Regions from separate parts of the Homo sapiens genome. Here region 2 is linked to region 1. Evidence: promoter capture Hi-C in 16 types of primary human blood cells and fetal thymus (Javierre and others, 2016). All regions are on one chromosome and are shown on one strand. The core of a region is centred on a gene start or on the middle of the fragment in contact, and the rest is flanking DNA. Distances in the headings are between cores, read along the strand shown. Region 1 holds the start of ELMOD1 (ELMO domain containing 1). Region 2 has its middle 21 kb from the start of SLN.

Region 1 (2,700 bases), core at 108-2,607:
CAAGACGTTTATTCAGGGAGGTATCCTTCATATCTCCCTGAAAAGAAAGAAAAGTAAATAGTGGCTAATGCTTTTAACAATGATTAAAAAAATCAGAAAGGTCAAGGCTTTAAGGTCATTTAATGTGAAGAGGAAATAAGATAAATGTTCAGCATTTAAGGATTATCACTAACCCAACTTTTCATAAACACAGAATAGTGGAGGTGGAACCTGCAGAGACTTTTATTCAGGGAACATCCACTGCGGGACAGGCAGATGCTTTGGTATCCAGGCTGCTCCGCGCCGCCAGCTGCCCAAGTAATCCTCACAACAGCCCGCAGAGGTAGGTATTAACCACCCTTTGTTTTACAGGTGAGGAAACAGAGGCACAAGACGGTCAGGTAACCGGCTTGGAGTGATGAATGAAACTAAAATAAGCGCCGACCTCGAAGCTCATTTGGTCTTTCCCCAACCCCATGCGGCCTCATTAAAGAGACTTTTTTGATTAGCTATGGAGAAAACGTTCTTCATCAAACATGAAATGCAATCCGGAAGGCACAGGTTTCTCTCTCTCTCTCTCTCTCTCTCTCTCTCTCTCTCTCTCTCTCTCTCTCTCTCTCTCTCTCTCTCTCTCTCTCTCTCTCTCTCTCTCTCTCTCTCTCTCTCTCTCTGTCTGTATGAAGTGGCTTCTGGGGCCCCACGAAGCAATGTTCCCCCAAACAGCCCCGGACGAGGGTGTCTATAATTCATCCTGTTATAATTAACCCCGGGGTTACGGTATTGCTTCTAAAGCCCTTGTTGAAATGCAGATATGGACCTCGCAGGATTGACACGATCTCTCAATTACACCTAATTAAAGAGCTGGCTCTTTGAGAATCTGACCCGACTGGGCCAGGAGTGGGAAAGGCGGGGGCTGCCGGTTGGGGTGAGGGATAGGGTTCTGCAGTCCCGGGAAGGCAGGTGAAGGGTGGGGATCAGGATTGGAAGAGTCACTGGGTGCTCGGTGAGACGAGGGAGGTTGGAGCTGAACTAAAACAAAGTTTGACTTCTGGACAATTATCCAGGGAGAGGGCGGGGAACACACCTTGCCCGGACTGTCTGGGAATCCCATTGACAGGTCATCTCAGGTTCACCATCTTCCTGTCGTGGGCTCCTCCAGGGAGGCCACCCGGGAGCAATTAAACTGGGCCACACCAGCCACCTCCCACAGCAGCGGGGTCCGCAGATTTAACCCTTTCCCCCCAGATTCCGGCACTGGGTGCCGCGCTCTCTCCCCCAGCACCGCGCCCGCGCCCCCGGCTCCCGGACTGGGCATGCTCAGTAGCCGCCCGCTTCGTGCTCCCAGGGAAGCCTCTGCACGCCCTCCCCCGCTGCTCTCGGTCGCCTCCTCGCCGCCAGCCGCCCCGGGTGCATCCCGGCTTGCTCCGCTCCACGCGACCCAGATTCCTGCCCCGCCCCCGCCCCTTCCGCGCCCGCAGCCAGTGCGGCAGCCGCGGCCGCCCCTGTCCAGCCTCGGCGCCCGGGACCGAGCGCGTCGCTCGCCGCCGCGGAGCGCGTAGCCGGAGCGCCTGGGGAAGGCGGAGATGAAGACCACGCCGCCGCGCGCCGGGAGCTGCTGAGCCTACCGCCGCCAGAGTCCAGGTGATTGGCGACCCCAGAGGAGCCTAGGGAGTAGGGGCGAATGCCCTTGGGGAGGAGAGAGGTGCGGCGAGGACGCGAGGCATCACGCAAGCTGCGCTGTGCCTGGGAGGCAGCAGAAATGCTAAGCATCGGGGGCAGAGAGGGAACGGGAATGAAAGTGCACTCTGCCTTGGTGCAGGGGCTCCGGGGTCACCCAGGACAGTGATTTCCCCTTCTATCCTGTCCTCCCAATTAACACCCGAGAGGCTGCAGGTCGGCGCGAGAGGCTGTTTGCATCTCGGCCCGGGCGTAGGTCGCCTAGCGACCTAACGCCGAGGGCTCGGGGAAGGGATCCCAGACAGAGCCAAAATGGAAGGCGGGACAAGGGCGGCCTGGCTGGGGCGAGGGGCTGGTCTGGGTCCCTGGGAACCCCTTGCCTTGTGGGCTTCGGTCTCCAGGGAGGAGCTAGGCAGCCGGGCTGCGGGGCCGCCGGACTGTGGGGTCCTCCGCGCAGCGAGCTGGGAGGAGCGGTCGGCTGGGCTGTTGAGCTGCGCCTCCTCCAACTGCTGGGAAACTCCGCACTTCAATATTGGAGCATCTCTTTCCCGGGCAGGTAGAATTGGACAGCCGAGTGGGGAGTGACAGCTGACAGCTGACGGGGCTGTTAAAAGCAGAGCAGTGGAGTGTGGTGGTGGGGTGAGCTGTTGTGGGTGCTTTTTTTTGTTTTCCAAGTGTGGGTACGGGCTGTTCTGACTCAGTGTTTATGCTCAACCTCTAAGCGGCGAGTTCGGTAACACATCTTATGAATATTTCAGGAACGACCTCACGGGCTCACTTGCTTCAGATCAAGTTTAATGAATATGTTGTCAGCCTTTCTGCTCTGCACAGTGCCCTGAGCTTTCCACATTTCATCCCTTTCCCCCACCACCTAGGAAAATACGCTGCTAACCCCCAGTGGGCCGTAGATTGGTACTATCAATTGAGTCTGTCATTTGGAGAGACCAATTTTGGGCAGGCATCCAGGCATTGTTCTGCATCTCTGCAATGTATACGTTTTGTGCCGGTGGCTTGACAACCGTCCTTAACTGGTGCTGCCAATAT
Region 2 (2,700 bases), core at 74-2,573, 100 kb after region 1:
CACCTATGTTATTTATGGGGTTTTTCTTGTCTTTGTGTTCTTTCTTTTCTTTTTTTCTTTTCTTTTCTTTTTTCAGGGTCTTGCTGTCGCCCAGGCTGGAGTGCAGTGACCCAATCATAATTCACTGTAGCTTTGAACTGCTGGGCTCAGGTGATCCTCTTGCCTCAGATTTTTGAGTCGCTGGTACTACAGGTGCATGCCACCACACATCCAGTTAATTTTTTAAAAAAATTTTTAGAGGCCAGGCGCGGTGGCTTACACCTGTAATGCCAGCAATTTGGGAGGCCGAGGTGGGTGGATCGCGAGGTCAGGAGTTCGAGACCAGCCTGGCCAATATAGTGAAACCCCGTCTCTACTAAAAAAAAATACAAAAATTAGCCGCACATGGTGGCACTCACCTGTAGTCTCAGCTGCTCAAGAGGCTGAAGCAGGAGAATCGCTTGAACTGGGGAGGCGGAGGTTGCAGTGAGCCAAGATCGCACCACTGCACTCCAGCCTGTGTGACAGGCTGGCTTCAAACTCCTGGCCTCAAGTGATTCTCCCACCTTGGCCTCCAAAAGTACTGCGATTACAGGCATGTTATTTGTTATTTGAAGGAACAAAATGTTTTGGCTTAGATTCTGTTTCTTATTTAGGTCACAAATAAACCCTTCAGAAGAAATAAAGTAATAATAAAATAAAGAGATGGTGGAATAGATGAAAAGATAGATCATCTGACTCTGTTCCCTGCCACGTTTGGAATCCTGTTGAGAAGAGAGAGAAGAAGCAACTACATACGGGGGACATATCCATCACTTGAGATTCTAGCTGACGACGTCCGAATATATCTCAACTCACAAAGTAAACGCCAGATCATATGCCATGATGACTTAATCATGTTACTATAAAGAAAATATTTAAACAGGAGAGATTTTAAAAATTGCAATTCATCTTGTGACAAATTACTTAAAATAATATATTTGCCTGGAAAGAACACATCTAATTTATATATTAGCAGACACTGTTGTGCACCGTGGTGAGAAGGGATATGTAAGTGGGATGATGACTTTTCCTTTCTGTAAAGAGGTTTCTATTTTTACTTTAAAGAAAACATGTTCAAAGAAAGTTGCTCTGAATAACTTAAATTACAGCGCTCCATAGACACTGGCACTATGCCTGGTTCTTTTTTATTGAGTACCAGACATTGTCTATGAAAAATAGTAAAGATAAGTTGATGCCTAGGATTATGCTATCTTTCTCCTAAGGGAGTTTTCGTTTGCTTTGGCAGGCTGCTGTGGCACTAGCAATCTTGTATCACCATTATCGACTCAGGGATTTAGATGATTCATGGCTGGATGTCAGAGACTTCTGATGTTAGTTAAAATGAGTAAAATTGTTCCACTCTATATCTTTCTCAAAACTCATAGGACAGCCATTACAACAGTGAGTTTCTTGTTTCTTTTGTTTTTGTTTTTTTCCCACCCATATATCCTAACTTACACTCTATGGCAGCCCAAATCCTGGAACTACACAGCAAAGGCAAGCAGAAAAGGACTAAGACAAATCCTCTTTATCTAGTCAGTGGACAAAGTGTGGGGGTCCTGTAGGATTGTGAATGTGAAGGGAATCCTCATTTTCTTTCTTTTAGTAATCTCCTGGCCCTGCCCTGTGGCAAGTCATGAAGCTGCACTTTTGCAACAGCAGCAGCAGTGGTAGGCTTGCAAGCACCTCAAACTCAGAGAAAATCCTTTTTTATTACCAGAGGAACTGGAAAAAGATGTCCCTGTGATCTGAAGAATGTTGGGGGAATCTCTATTAATCGTTTTCTTTCTTTTTTCTCTCTGCATTCTGCTCCTGAGGCAGACCCCATTTTGAGAAGTACACAACAACATGGAGAGGCTGAAACCCCAGCTTTTTAGCCGGAAGACCATGAAAAGAAGCCCTTAAGAACTAGAAAGTTTTGGGGAAGTCATGGAGAAGAGAGAGCTGGGGAAATGGATTCCTTAAATCTTTGTGTGAAGTCACTTCTGAGCTAATTGTAGGGGGAATTGATATGAAGCAGCACCGCAAAGGTTTTGAGAACCAAACCATAGTGTAGACCACTGCCCATGTGCCAAACTAGCCTTTGGGTGGGACATAAATAAAGTGAACCAAAATAGCACTGCAAAGGTTTTCAAAACAAAACTGACTTTGGAACCATAGAACAGAGAAGGTAGATTGGGATTTGTAATCTTAAACTACAAAGACTGGTTACCTGCTAAAACTAAAGATCAAATTATCCAGAGGATCTTAACAGAACCCAGAGTCTCATAACATAATATTCAAAATGTCTAGGAAACCATTCAAAATTCCTTGACATATAAAGAATAAGGACATTCTTAACAATTCTCAATAGAAAAGAGAATCAACAGTTAGCTCAGAGATGACCAGAAGTTAAAATTATCAGACAAAAACTTTAAAGCATCCATTCTAATTATGCTCCATGAAGTAAAAGCAATATGCTTGAAATGAATAAAGAAAGGAGTTCTCAGCAAAGAAATAGAGGCTGTAAAAAAGAACAAAATGTAAAATTTAGAACTGAAACATAAAATGAAAATATTCACTAATGGGCTCAATAGCAGAAAGGAGATGGCAGAGAAAAGAGTGGGGGAACTTAAAGACAGATCAGTAGAAATCATTAAATCTGAAAAACGAAGACAAAAACCATTTTTTAAAAATTGA

Evidence for each region. Contacts are between HindIII fragments. The CHiCAGO score rates a contact against its expected background, and 5 or more counts as called.
Region 2: a fragment that was not itself captured here is called in contact with the fragment with the promoter of ELMOD1 in region 1 in 1 of 17 cell types (endothelial precursors); the score reaches 9.6 in endothelial precursors.

What each region holds. Positions count from the first base shown.
Region 1 is chr11:107,589,790-107,592,489 of GRCh38, forward strand. It overlaps ELMOD1 (ELMO domain containing 1), which reads left to right and starts at 1,358. Exons shown (of 12, transcript NM_018712.4): 1 at 1,358-1,620. RefSeq lists silencers at 1,241-1,350, 1,411-1,550 and an enhancer at 1,801-1,860. The HindIII fragment of the contact is 4,180 bases long and covers 1-2,700 here.
Region 2 is chr11:107,689,954-107,692,653 of GRCh38, forward strand. No RefSeq gene overlaps it. Among named protein-coding and RNA genes, the nearest start is that of SLN, 21 kb to the right of the region's middle. The HindIII fragment of the contact is 3,358 bases long and covers 1-2,700 here.